Linked DNA regions of Homo sapiens: all the other regions are linked to region 2. The links are contacts of gene promoters, found by promoter capture Hi-C in human tissues and cell types (Jung and others, 2019). All regions are on one chromosome and are shown on one strand. Each heading gives the region's core, a stretch centred on a gene start or on the middle of the fragment in contact. The rest is flanking DNA. Distances are from core to core; before and after follow the strand shown. Region 1 overlaps ZNF611 (zinc finger protein 611). Region 2 holds the start of ZNF600 (zinc finger protein 600). Region 3 overlaps LOC122539214 (Zinc finger protein LOC122539214).

The links. The method cuts DNA at HindIII sites, captures the fragments that hold promoters and counts their contacts. A contact is called where the count stands out against the background at its distance.
Region 1: a fragment that was not itself captured here is called in contact with the fragment with the promoter of ZNF600 in region 2 in 2 of the 25 tissues and cell types used here (adrenal gland and mesenchymal stem cells).
Region 3: a contact is called between a fragment that was not itself captured here and the fragment with the promoter of ZNF600 in region 2, in 2 of the 25 tissues and cell types used here (H1 embryonic stem cells and pancreas).

Annotation. Positions count from the first base shown.
Region 1 is chr19:52,702,039-52,706,191 of GRCh38, reverse strand. It overlaps ZNF611 (zinc finger protein 611), which reads left to right. Exons shown (of 6, transcript NM_001161499.2): 6 at 1-3,379. The coding sequence ends at 1,255. Among named protein-coding and RNA genes, the nearest start is that of ZNF611, 31 kb to the left of the region's middle. The HindIII fragment of the contact is 3,945 bases long and covers 474-4,153 here.
Region 2 is chr19:52,785,236-52,789,550 of GRCh38, reverse strand. ZNF600 (zinc finger protein 600) reads left to right here and starts at 2,760. Exons shown (of 6, transcript NM_001321866.4): 1 at 2,760-2,956. RefSeq lists a silencer at 2,602-2,751 and enhancers at 2,084-2,941, 2,942-3,800. The HindIII fragment of the contact is 28,786 bases long and covers 1-4,315 here.
Region 3 is chr19:52,670,737-52,674,994 of GRCh38, reverse strand. All of the region lies in intron 1 of LOC122539214 (Zinc finger protein LOC122539214), which reads left to right. It also overlaps a transcript of ZNF83 not described here. Among named protein-coding and RNA genes, the nearest start is that of ZNF83, 35 kb to the right of the region's middle. RefSeq lists enhancers at 486-985, 4,196-4,258. The HindIII fragment of the contact is 8,097 bases long and covers 1-4,258 here.

The DNA of each region.
Region 1 (4,153 bases), core at 1,197-3,696, 83 kb after region 2:
GTGTAAAGAGTGTGGCAAGACCTTCAGTCAGGAGTCATCCCTTACCTGCCATCGTAGACTTCATACTGGAGTAAAACGTTACAATTGTAATGAGTGTGGCAAGATCTTTGGTCAAAATTCAGCCCTTCTAATTGATAAGGCAATTGATACTGGAGAAAATCCTTACAAGTGTAATGAATGTGACAAGGCTTTTAATCAACAATCACAACTTTCACATCATAGAATTCATACTGGAGAGAAACCTTACAAATGTGAAGAATGTGACAAAGTTTTCAGTCGGAAATCAACCATTGAGACACATAAGAGAATTCATACTGGAGAGAAACCATACAGATGTAAGGTTTGTGACACAGCTTTCACGTGGCATTCACAGCTGGCTCGACATAGAAGAATTCATACTGCAAAGAAAACTTATAAATGTAATGAGTGTGGCAAGACCTTCAGTCACAAGTCATCCCTTGTATGCCATCATAGACTTCATGGTGGAGAGAAATCTTACAAATGTAAGGTTTGTGACAAGGCTTTTGTGTGGAGTTCACAACTGGCAAAACATACTAGAATTGACTGTGGAGAAAAACCTTACAAGTGTAATGAATGTGGGAAGACCTTTGGTCAAAATTCAGATCTTTTAATTCATAAGTCAATTCATACTGGGGAGCAACCTTACAAATGTGATGAATGTGAAAAGGTTTTCAGTCGTAAATCAAGCCTTGAGACACATAAGATAGGTCATACTGGAGAGAAACCATACAAATGTAAGGTTTGTGACAAGGCTTTTGCGTGTCATTCCTATCTGGCAAAACATACTAGAATTCATAGTGGAGAGAAACCTTACAAGTGTAATGAGTGCAGCAAGACCTTCAGTCACAGGTCATACCTTGTATGCCATCATAGAGTTCATAGTGGTGAGAAACCTTACAAGTGTAATGAGTGCAGCAAGACCTTCAGTCGCAGGTCATCCCTTCATTGCCATCGTAGACTTCATAGTGGTGAGAAACCTTACAAGTGTAATGAGTGTGGCAATACCTTCCGTCACTGCTCATCCCTTATATACCATCGTAGACTTCATACTGGAGAGAAATCTTACAAATGTACAATTTGTGACAAGGCTTTCGTGCGTAATTCACTCCTGTCAAGACATACCAGAATTCACACTGCAGAGAAACCTTACAAGTGTAATGAATGTGGGAAGGCTTTTAATCAACAATCACACCTTTCACGTCATCATAGAATTCATACTGGAGAGAAACCTTAGAAATGTGAAGCATGTGACAAAGTTTCCATTTGGAAATCACACCTTAAAGACATAGGAGAATTTATACTGGAGAGAAAGCTTACAAATGTAAGGTTTCTGACAAGACTTGGGAGTGATTCACACCTGGAACAACATACTGGACTTCACACTGGAGAGAAACCTTACAAGTGTAATGAGTGTGGCAAAGCCTTTGGCAAGCAGTCAACACTTATTCACCATCAGGCAATTCATGGTGTAGGGAAACTTGACTAATGTAATGATTGTCACAAAGTCTTCAGTAATGCTACAACGATTACAAATCATTGGAGAATCCATAATGAAGAGAGATCTTACAAGTGTAATAAATGTGGCAAATTTTTCAGAGATCGTTCACATATTGCAGGTCATCGGTGAACTCATACTGGAGAGAAACCTTACAAATGTCATGACTGTGCCAAGGTCTTCAGTCAAGCTTCATCCTATGCAAAACATAGGAGAATTTATACAGGAGAGAAACCTCACAAGTGTGATGATTGTGGCAAAGCCTTTGCTTCACGTTCACACGTCATTAGACATCAGAGAATCTATACTGGACAGAAATCTTACAAATGTCATCAGTGTGGCAAGGTCTTCAGTCCAAGATCACTCCATGCAGAACATCAGAAAATTCATTTTTGAGATAACCGTTCCCAATGAAATGAGTATAGCAAACCATCAAGCATTAATTGACATTGGAGTCAATTCAGCATTGACTTGAGTTTGTGTTGACTTAACATTGAGTTCAAGCCTTTATTGACATTCAAGTGTTTATGTTAAGAGGATGGGGCCAGGTGTGGTGGCTCCGACCTGTAATCCCAGCACGTCGGGAGGCCAAGGCACATAGGTCACTTGAGGTCAGGAGTTTGAAACCAGCATGGCCAACAGATGTGAGCCACTTTTCTCAGCCTGTTTTTTGTTTCTTATTTTCTATTATTTTTTTGAGCCAGTACTTTTTAAAGAGATAGTACTTTTTTCAGTTAGTACTTTTTGAAAGGGATATATCATAGTAATTTTTAAAAGGGATATGAGGCCAGGCACGGAGGCTCATGCCTATAATCCCAGCACTTTGGGAGGCCGAGGCAGGCAGATCACGGGGTCAGGAGATCGAGACTTTCCTGGCTAACAGGGTGAATCCCTGTCTCTACTAAAAATACAAAAAATTAGCTGGGCATGGTGGCTGGCGCCTGTAGTCCCAGCTACTCCAGATGCTGAGGCAGGAGAATGGCATGAACCTGTGAGGCGGAGCTTGCAGGGAGTCGAGATCGCACCACTGGGCTCCAGCCTGGGCGACAGAGTGAGAGTCTATCTCAAAAAAAAAAAAAAAAAAAAGGATATCAAAGCCTCGGTACGTGGTGGCTCATCCCTGCAATCAGAGTACTTTGGTCGACCCATGTGAACTGGTCACCTAAGGTCACAATTTCAAAAGCACCCTAACATGGTGAAACCCCATCTCTACTAAAAATACAAAAGTTAGCCGGGGGTGTTGGTGTGCACCTTTAGTTCCAGCTACTTGGGAGGCTGGGGCATGAGAATTGCTTAAACCTAGGAGGTAGAAGTTGCAGTGAACCAAAATTGTGCCACTATACTGCAGCCTGGGTGGCAGAGTGAGTCTCCATCTCAAACAAACAAAAAATAACAAAAAAAGACCTCAAAAATGCTTTTCTTCTCGTATAATGGACTTCCTTCTTTTTCTTTCTGGTTCCTCTTCATTTCTCTCTTTATTTTTTATTTATTTATTTATTTATTTTGCAGTTTGAGTTTGAGATAAATCTAAGTTATAAAAGTTGTATTTCTTAATACATAATGACTTCTGAAAGATGCCTTTGCAGCATCCTATAATCAGCTCACATCATTCGTTTCTGTACTTGTATATTTTCCAGTTATTTTCCGGTTGACCCCAGAATTCGTTAGATTTTTTTAAAAAACAATTTCAAAATAGTTGCTGTTTTAAATTAGTTGCATCCAGTTCATATCAATGTCTGCATGCTTTCTAGTCTTTGTTATTTATTGAAAACCTTTGGTACCTAAACTTAAGTTTGATTGTTTCAGTGTGTACTTGGTAAATATGTCAGTGGCCTTTTAACTAAACATCAAAATGTACTTTAACCAGTTAGTCTGTTTTTCAGTTTTCTTTCCTTATGTCCTTTGTTAAAATCTTGATCTGGGAGCTATTTATTGCGTGTTTCCCTCAAGGCCCTCTGGTCCATTCTGGAAAAATGTTGAAACATGGGCTGGATTGGCATAGAACGCTCCTCCAAAAGCACCCGTGTATTCTTTTCTTTTCTTTTTTGAAATGGAATCTTGCTCTGTCGCCTTGGATGGAGGGCAGTGGTGCAATCTCAGCTCACTGCAACCTCTGCCTCCTGGGATCAAGTGATGCTCCTGCCTCAGTCTCCTGAGTAGCTGGAATTACAGGCACCCACCAGCATGCCTGGCTAATTTTTGTATTTTTAGTAGAGACGGGGTTTCATCACGTTTGTCAGGCTGGTCTCAAATCCTGACCTTGTGATCCACCCGACTTGGCCTCCCAATGTGATGAGATTACAGGTGTGAGCCACTGCTCCCAGCCTCGGTTTTTTTTTTGTTTTTCTTTTTGTTTTTTTGGGGGTTTTTTTTTGAGATGGAGTTTTGCTCTTGTTGCCCAGGCTGGACTGCAATGGTGCGATCTGGTGTCACTACAACGTCTGCCTCCTGGGTTCAAGTGATTCTCCTGCCTCAGCCTACCAAGTAGTTGGGATTACAGGTGCCCTCCACCACTCCTGGCTAGGTTTTTGCATTGTCAGTAGAGACAGGCTCTCACTGTGTTGGCCAGGCTGGTCTCAAACTACTGACTTCTGGTGATCTGCCCACCTCGACCTCCCAAAGTGCTGGGATTACAGG
Region 2 (4,315 bases), core at 1,511-4,010:
ATTGGTGAAGAGGTGGGTTGCCCCTCCACACCTGTGGGCATTTCTCGTCAGGTGGAACGAGACACTTTGAAAAGAAAGAGACACAGAGACAAAGTATAGAAGAGAAAGTTACATGTATACATAAAATGAGTGAGAAAATACATTTCCAAAATTCTTTTGAGTTGAGATGTGAGAGAAAAATGTTTCAAGACCTCATCCCTAGATATCTGAGTCCCAGGAGCTCTGTGACATCAACTCCTGCCTCTGTCCTCCTCCCTACCTCTACTGTAACCATGCAGGCTTCTTTTCTTTTTCTGGGACTCAGGTTGCTCCTTTCTCAGGGCCTTCACCTGGGCTGTCCCTCTGCCTAGGACTCTCTGGCCACTCAGCTGCAAGTGACAAGCAGCCTTTCTTCCCTAAGTCTTTGTTCTGACATCACTTTTTCTATGAAAACTTTTGTGTTCTCCCACAGTCCCCCATTTGACATGACAGCCCCACCTTCACCCCCATCTCTGGCCCATGTTGCCTGTTCTGTGTGATCCTTTTTGCTCCTTCGCTGTTCACTGGATCCTGGTGGGAACAAGTCCCCAAGCGGAGAGCAGAGCCAGAAGGTGGGGCTCTGCGGGGCTGGTGCCCTGAGTGGAGCTCAAACTTGGCTTCACATTAGGGTTTTCAGGCATTTTGCAAATATAGCTTCTATGCTGTTTTATCAGAGATTGCTATTATCACAGTATGGGACCCACCCTCAATAATACCTACAATGGTGCAGGTGATTCTCATCTGTCTCCAGCATTGAACATCAAGGCAGTTTCCTCCATGTTGAGAGCTGAGATCAGCCTGTGATCCACAGGGAGGTGAGGGGGCTGTGCTCTGCATGGGGTTTGGTTAGGGCCAGATCTGTGCCCTGAAGATCTGTGTCCTGCTGCAGCGTGTGTGTGGACTTTTGCAGGAGGGAGCAAGACCTCAAAACAGGTCAAAATTGCCCTTGTAGGTCTTCCTGTGGCACCTTCTTATCTCCACATAATCTCTGGTGCAGTGGGCAGCAGAGAACCATCTTTATCCCTGGTGAGGTCTCCCCTGTGTGTGTGTTTTGTCACAGGAAAGGAGGGAGTGATTTCTAAAAATTAAATCTCGTATTTTTTTTTACATACAGGATTGATTTTCCAAAGACTCATGTTACGTGAGGAAGACACCAAGAGGAGCAAAGAAAAGGAGCCAGGGATGGCTCTTCCTCAGGTGGAGTAATATTCCTCGGTGGATTCTTCTGTCTCTTTCCTTTCTGAAATGCCAGGTATTGTAGTAGCCAGTCTTCTGTGAGTCTGAAGCATCCTGCCTCACACGTTTGCTCACACTAACCCATGCCTTTTCTCAGTCCTTGTCATCTTCACTTAAATTCCATCTTCTATAACCTAGTGACATGAGCTTGGGAAGAGGCTGCACTGGGCATGGTCCTGGGAAGGGCTCACACCAGAGATGGATGGAGATGGGGTGTGGACCCCAAGGTGTCAGTGATATTGGGCAGCAGGGATTGTTCAGGGGCCACATCTGGATGCACATTTAGCTCTTTGTGGATCAGATCAGAGAATCTATGTATGAAAGTCATACATTAATGTATGCACTGGTATCTGTGTACTGGTATCTGGTAAATTCTGGAAAAGGAGACAAACTAGGGGAGATATTTCTTTTTCTTTTTCTTTTTCTTTTTTTTTTTTGAGACGTAGCCTCGCTCTGTCGCCCAGGCTGGAGTGCAGTGGCACGATCTTGGCTCACTGCACGCTCCGCCTCCCGGGTTCACTCCATTCTCCTGTCTCAGCCTCCCTAGTAGCTGGGATTACAGGCACCCACCACCACGCTTGGCTAATTTTTTTGTATTTTTTAGTAGAGATGGGGTTTCACTGTGTTAGCCAGGATGGTCTCGATCTCCTGACCTCATGATCTGCCCGCCTCAGCCTCCCAAAGTGCTGAGATTACAGGTGTGAGCCAGCGCGCCCGGTCTTGTTTTTGTTTGGGTTAGGCGGGCTCCTGTAGTTCCAGTTACTCGAAAGGCTGAGGCAGGAGAAGGGCGTGAACCCGGGAGGCGGAGCTTGCAGTGAGCCAAAATCGTGCCACTGCACTCCAGCCTGGGCGACACAGCGAGACTCCGTCTCAAAAAAAAAAAAAAAAAAAAAAAGTAAAAGAGCGAGAGAGAGATCAGGAAGAGGACCCTGCAGTTAGGGGGTGTTACTTTGTCGCCCAGGATGGCCTGGACCCCCAGGTTCAGGGATTCTCCCGCCGCTGCTTCCTGAGTAGCTGGGACCTCAGGCTTCCGCCTCGTGCCCGCATCCCTGCTGTGTTTAGGCAGCAGGTGGTGACCTCACTCCTCCCTGGCCTGAGCTCTCCGTCCCGCATCCCAGGCGGAGGCCCTAGGGAACACTTTGAAGCTGAGCACGGGGTGGACCCTCCCTCCTGAGTGAATGGAGAATAGAAAGGGAGAGGATTTCTGTTCTGTTCTGTGGGCCATCAGCATGAAATCGTATGTTCCGCCCTGGCAGGGCTTTGCATTTCACATTCTAGTTTGCATTCCCGTTCCAGATAATTCCAGGGCTTTTGAATCATGCCTCAGCCTTCCTGGCCGCTGTCGCCTCCAAAAACTCGAAAAACAGAGGCGCTGAGTGCGAGGCTGAGAAGCACAGGTCCCGCCCCGGGCCCTCCCTCTGCCGGTTCTAAAGGGCAAGGTCTCTCCGCCTGGGGCCCCGCCTCTACCCCGCCCAGGTCCAGCCAACCTGCCCCGGCCTGGCTTCAGTCCTGGGCGCGCACAAACCCGGAAGCGGATCGCGTGGAGTGAAGGTCCTACCACGGCGCGTGAGTTTTGCTCTGCCTTGGATTAAGTCTGCACTTCCCAGGTCCCCGGCGCTTCTGCCCCTGGGACGTGGGATCCCCACGGACCTGGAAATTCTCGCCTGTCTTCCCTTCACCCAGAGCAAATTGAGACGTCCCGGTAAGAGTCTGGAAGTTGCTTGCTTTTGGGTTTGAAGTCGCTCGGAGGCTGGTCCCGTCCCCGGTCTTTCTGCTATAGGGCAATGTATACACTTCCTATCGCGTATTTTTCCTGCTCAAAACATTTTTCTGACTATTCCCGCCCCGTGCTTTTTAAAGTCCTCACCCGCGAGGTGGATTCCAGCCCTGGGCGCCTCCCAGCCTCGCCCCAGTTGGCACCTGGAGCGCGGCGCCCCGGCCCCAGCCCCGGGGAGGCTGCGTCCTCTGCCTGGTCCTGGGATCCTGCAGGTCCCACCTTTGTCTTAGGGTGCCGTCGCCCACCACGTCCCTCCTGGTGCCGGGCCCTGCTGCTCCCCAAGTCTTCGCTTCCCCTGAGCCAGGGTTGGGGTGGGTCGCAGGGGCTTGTCCTATGATACCAGGTGTTCTTTCCTGTCCAGCTCCACCCCCTGGAAAATGCGCTTCTACGGGATGCAGGCGTCTTACTCCAAACCCGCCTGTGATTACTCCAAACCCGCCTGGGCCAAAGGGATCAGGAGATAGAGAGAGGGACTGAGAGAGCAGTAGAAAACCAGAGACAGAGAAAAGAAGAATGAGAAAGGCCCATAACAGATGGCAAAGTAGAGGATGGGTTAGGAATTTGCCAAGAGACAGCAAAAGTGAAAGAAAAAAAACTAAGAAAGCAGGAGGAGAAAAGCAACTGGAGAAATGTAGAGAAAAGCTAGATGTACAGAAAGATGAAGGACAGCAAGGTAGGGAGAGGGGCAGCAAAGAGGGAGGCTCACCAGAGTGAGGGAGAGGAGGAGGGATTTGGAGCCAGGGCAGACAGAGCAGAGTGGTGCTGGTGGCAAGAACAGATGGAGAACCACAGCAGGGAGGACACCTGGGGATCTGAGGTGCTGGAGAGTGGGGACAGAGGGGTATAACAGGGAAGAGAGAATTTAATAGGGAGAGCAGAGGAGACGGAGAGATAAGAGAAGAGGCTGTAATATATAGACATTGAGGAAGATTGAAAGATTGGGGAGAAAGAACAACAAGAGGTTAAATAAGGACCGGGCGCTGTGGGTCATGCCTGTAATCCCAGCATTTTGGGAGGCTGAGGCGGGTGGATCACCTGAGGTCCGGAGTTCGAGACCAGCCTGATCAACAGGGAGAAACCCCGTCTCTATTAAAAATATAAAATTAGCTGGGAGCGGTTGCACATGCCTGTAATCCCAGCTACTAGGGAGGCTGAGGCAGGAGAAACCTTTGAACCTGGGAGGCAGAGGTTGCGGTGAGAGCCAAGATCGCACCGGTGCACTCCAGCCTGCACAACAAGAGTGAAACTCCATCTCAAAAAGGAAAAAAAAAAAAGAGGTTAAAT
Region 3 (4,258 bases), core at 572-3,071, 110 kb after region 2:
AATCCCAGCACTTTGGGAGCCCAAGGTGGGTAGATCACTTGATGTCAGAAGTTTTAGACCAGCCTGGCCAACAGAGGTTAGCCACTTTTCCCAGCCGGTTTTTTGTTTCTTTGACAAAAACTGATAGGGATTTGTATGGGCGTTGTGTTAAATCTAAATCATCTTGGGTTGTATAATCATTTAACGAGATTAAGTTTTCCAATCTATCAATATTGGTTGTATCTCTATGTTTTTAATCATTTTGATCAATGTTCATAGATTTCAAGGTAGAAACTTCTCGCATTTTTACGTTTATTCCTAAGTATATCTTAGTTTAAATTCTCTAGAAAATGGAAGTGTTTTCTTAATTTCCTTTTAAAATTTTTTACTGTTATTGCATGGAAATTCAACTAATTTTGGTGCTAATATTGTACTCTGCAAATCCACTGAATGTTTATTAGTTCCACTTGTATTTTGGTTGAGTCTTTGTGACTTTCTACACAGAGGATCGTGTCATCTACAAACAAATAAAATTTTATTTATTTCTTTCTGATTTGGATGAGTTTGATTTCTTTTGCTATTTCATTGCTCTGGCTAGGACAGTCAGTATTGATTGAATAGAAAGGGTGAGAACGTTCTAGCATCATGTGAGATCCTACAGGAAAAGCATTCAATTTTTCCTGATTGGTTATTTCAGCTGTGGTCATTTCATGGATGGTCTTTTATATTGTTGAGGTAAATTTCCTTCTTTATTTTGTTTAGGGTTTCTATGATGACAGGATGGTCCTAAGTCTTCACACATCAGGGCCACAGCCCCAACCTCACAGGAAACAGGTGATCTTTTGAAAGGCTTAAGGCCCAAGAGTTCATTTGAGGGCTTTTTAACCTGTGGATTTGGTCTAGAGCCATATCAGAGGGTTGTGTCTGTGTGAGTGTGCAAATGTGTGGTGCTTTCCAAGTTCAGTTGACATTGGTAATTTTTTTTTTTTTTTTTTTTTTTGAGATGGAGTCTCACTCTGTTACCCAGGCTGCAGGGCAGTGGCATGATCTCGACTCACTGCGGCCTCCACCTCTCAGCTTCAACCAATTCTCCTGCCTCAGCCTCCCTAGTAGCTGGGATTACAGGCACACACCACCAGGCCCGGTTAATTTTTTGTATTTTTAGTAGAGATAGGGTTGCACCATGTTGACCAGGCTGGTCTCGAACTTTTGACCTGAGGTGATTGGCCCACCTCAGCCTCCCAAAGAGCCACTGCTCCTGGCCTAATAATTTTTTATTTATTTATTTTTTTGAGTTGGAGTCTCACTCTGTCACCCAGGCTAGAGTGCAGTTGCATGATCTCTGTCTCCAGAAAAAACAAAAAACAAAAAGATAATATTTGCATCGTTATTGGCTCATTTTTGATTACTTGGGAAAACAGCTTTCAAAAGCTTAAGGTTTTTAAATACATGTGACTTTCTATATTTTTTTTCTGATGTTCTGTTTATAGCATTTTGTGTGTGTGTGTGTGTGTGATGGAGTTACACTCTTCTTGTGTACCCTGGAGTGTAGTGGTGCGATCTCAGCTCACTGCAACCTCTGCCTTCTTGGCTCAAATGATTCTCCTGCCACAGCCTCCTGAATATCTGAGATTACAGGCATGCGCCATCACCCTCGGCTAATTTTGTATTTTTTTAGAGACAGGGTTATACCATGTTGGTCAGGCTGGTCTCGAACTCTTGACCTCAGGGGATCCACCCATCTTGGCTCCCAAAGTGCTGGGATTCAAGCATGAGCCACTGTGCCCAGCCATTTGTTTAGTTTTTTGAGATGGAGTCCAGCTCTTTCGCACAGTCTGGAATGCAGTGGTGCAATCTCCACTCACTGCAACCTCTGCTCCCTGGGTTTAAGTGATTCTCATGCCTCAGTCTCCTGAGTAGCTGGGATTACAGGCTCACATCCAGTTTTTTTTGTATTTTTGGTAGAGACAGGGCTTATAGGTTTGAGCCACCACACCTGGCCATCCCCATTTTTATATGTACAATTTAATCATTGACTACAGTCATTCTGTTGTGTTATGAAATAATAGGTCTTATTCTATTTTTTGTACCCATTATCATGTTCTATTTATTAATTATTTCTGATTAAAATAAACTTTTTTGCCATGCACGGTGGCTCATGTCTGTAATCCCAGCACTTTGGAAGGTCAGGATTTGGAGACCAGCCTGGCCAACACGGTGAAACCCCGTCTCTACTAAAAATACAAAAATTAACCCAGCATGATGGCGAGCACCAATAATCCCAGCTACCTGGGAGGCTGAGGCAAGAGAATCATTTGAACCCAGGAGGCAGATGTTGCAGTGAGCCGAGACCGTGCCATTGCACCCCAGCCTAGGCAACAAGAACCAAACTCAATCTCAAAAATAAATAAGTAACTTAATTAATTTTTAAAACATAAAGATGAGGTGCTATGTTGCCTAGGCTGGACTCCAACTGTTGGGCACTAGCCATCCTCCTGCCTCAGCCTCCCATCATGCTCGGATTACAGGCACAAGCCACCATGCCTGACGACATTATGCTTTTTTAAACTTGCTAATATTCTAGATATGCTAATTTCCCTTCTAAATGTAATCATATTTTAGCTAATTACTAGTGTTTGATAGATGAATTCTTCCATAGCTAGGGATGTGGGAGAAAAACATAGTTCATAGTACATGTTAACTTACAGATATAGTCATAAAAGTATTACATGCAGAAATGAGGTGATTTATAATTTCATTTTATTTTTATTTTTATTTTTTTGAGACAGAATCTCACTCTTTTGCTCAGGCTGGAGAGCTGTGGTGAGATCTTTGCTCACTGCAACCTCTGCCTCCTGGATTCAAGAGATTCTCCTGCCTCAATCTCCTGAGTAGCTGAGATTACAGTTTTGTGCCACCTTACCCAGCTAATTGTTGTATTTTTAGTACAGATGGGGTTTCACCATGTTAGCCAGGCTAGTCTCAATCTCCTGACCTCTGGGTCATCCACCTGCCTCGACCTCCCAAAGTGCTGGGATTACAGGTGTGAGTCAATGTGCCCAGCCAATTTTATAACTTAGTTATATTTTTTCAGGGCCCAAGTAAAACGGAATAACTTGACTGCAATGTATTCTTAGTAATATTTCATGATCTTTCTCTATATGAAAATAAATCCTAACATTTAAAGACTGCATATTTTATAGCCTTTGTTATTCCCACCTGATAGAACACTCAGGAGAGAATAACAAAGAAAACACCTAAAATAGATTGCAATTGGATGGGTGTGGTGGCTTGCCTGTAACCCCAACACTTTGGGAAGCAAAGGTGGGTTGATCGCTTGAGTCCAGGAGTTGAAGGCTAGCCTGAGCATCATAGTGGGACCACCCCTCTACAAAGTACTAACAAATTAGCCAGGCTTGGTGGTGAGGGCCTGCAGCTCCAGCTAGTTGGGAGGTGTGGCGGGAGGATTGCTTGAGCACCAGAGGTTGAGGGTGCAAGGAGCAGTGTTCCTGCCACTGCATTCCAGCCGGGGTGACAGAACTAGGTCCTGTCTGAAGGAAAAAAAAAAAGTACAACTTGAAGATAAAAGGTACATTTTCTAATTTTTTCAGAAGGCACATAGAGTGAATTTAATATTACAATACATTTATAAATTATTGATGTTAGCATATTATGTTGTCAACAACATTTATCGTAAAAGTAGTTATATTGCAGGGAAGAACTGTAAAAAAAAGTATTTGAGAATGAGGTGTAAGCTCTGATTTTTTTATCTTGTCCAAATTCCTATGTAAAGAGTCTAGGGGGTCATGCCTTACAAACCACAAAACATATGGCAAAGAAGAAAGTCAAAATATTTGACCTCAAAACATGTTTCTGTGCCATATTTTGAAATGGTCCTTCAAAGGTATCGTTTGTGAGGGGTTCATGTGCGTCTGCAAAGAATCTCTGTTAACATAGCTAGATCTTTTTCTTCTAGGCCCTACCAATCCTGAAGAGAATAACTAAAAATCTAACACCTTTTAAAGGTCTGAATAAAAAACATTCATCATCTATTTTCTCTGAAGGCAGCCAGCAGAGGACTTCAAAAGAACCTTGGTCTCCAACATCTTTTATCTTAACCTGAACATTTCCTCTCTATTGATCCCAGGTATTTAGACAAACTCAACCAATTCTAATCAGAAAATGTTTAAATTTACCTGTAGCCTGGAAGCTCCCACTTTGAGTTGTCCCACCTTTCTGAACAAAATTAATGCATCTTTTAAATGTATTTGATTGATGT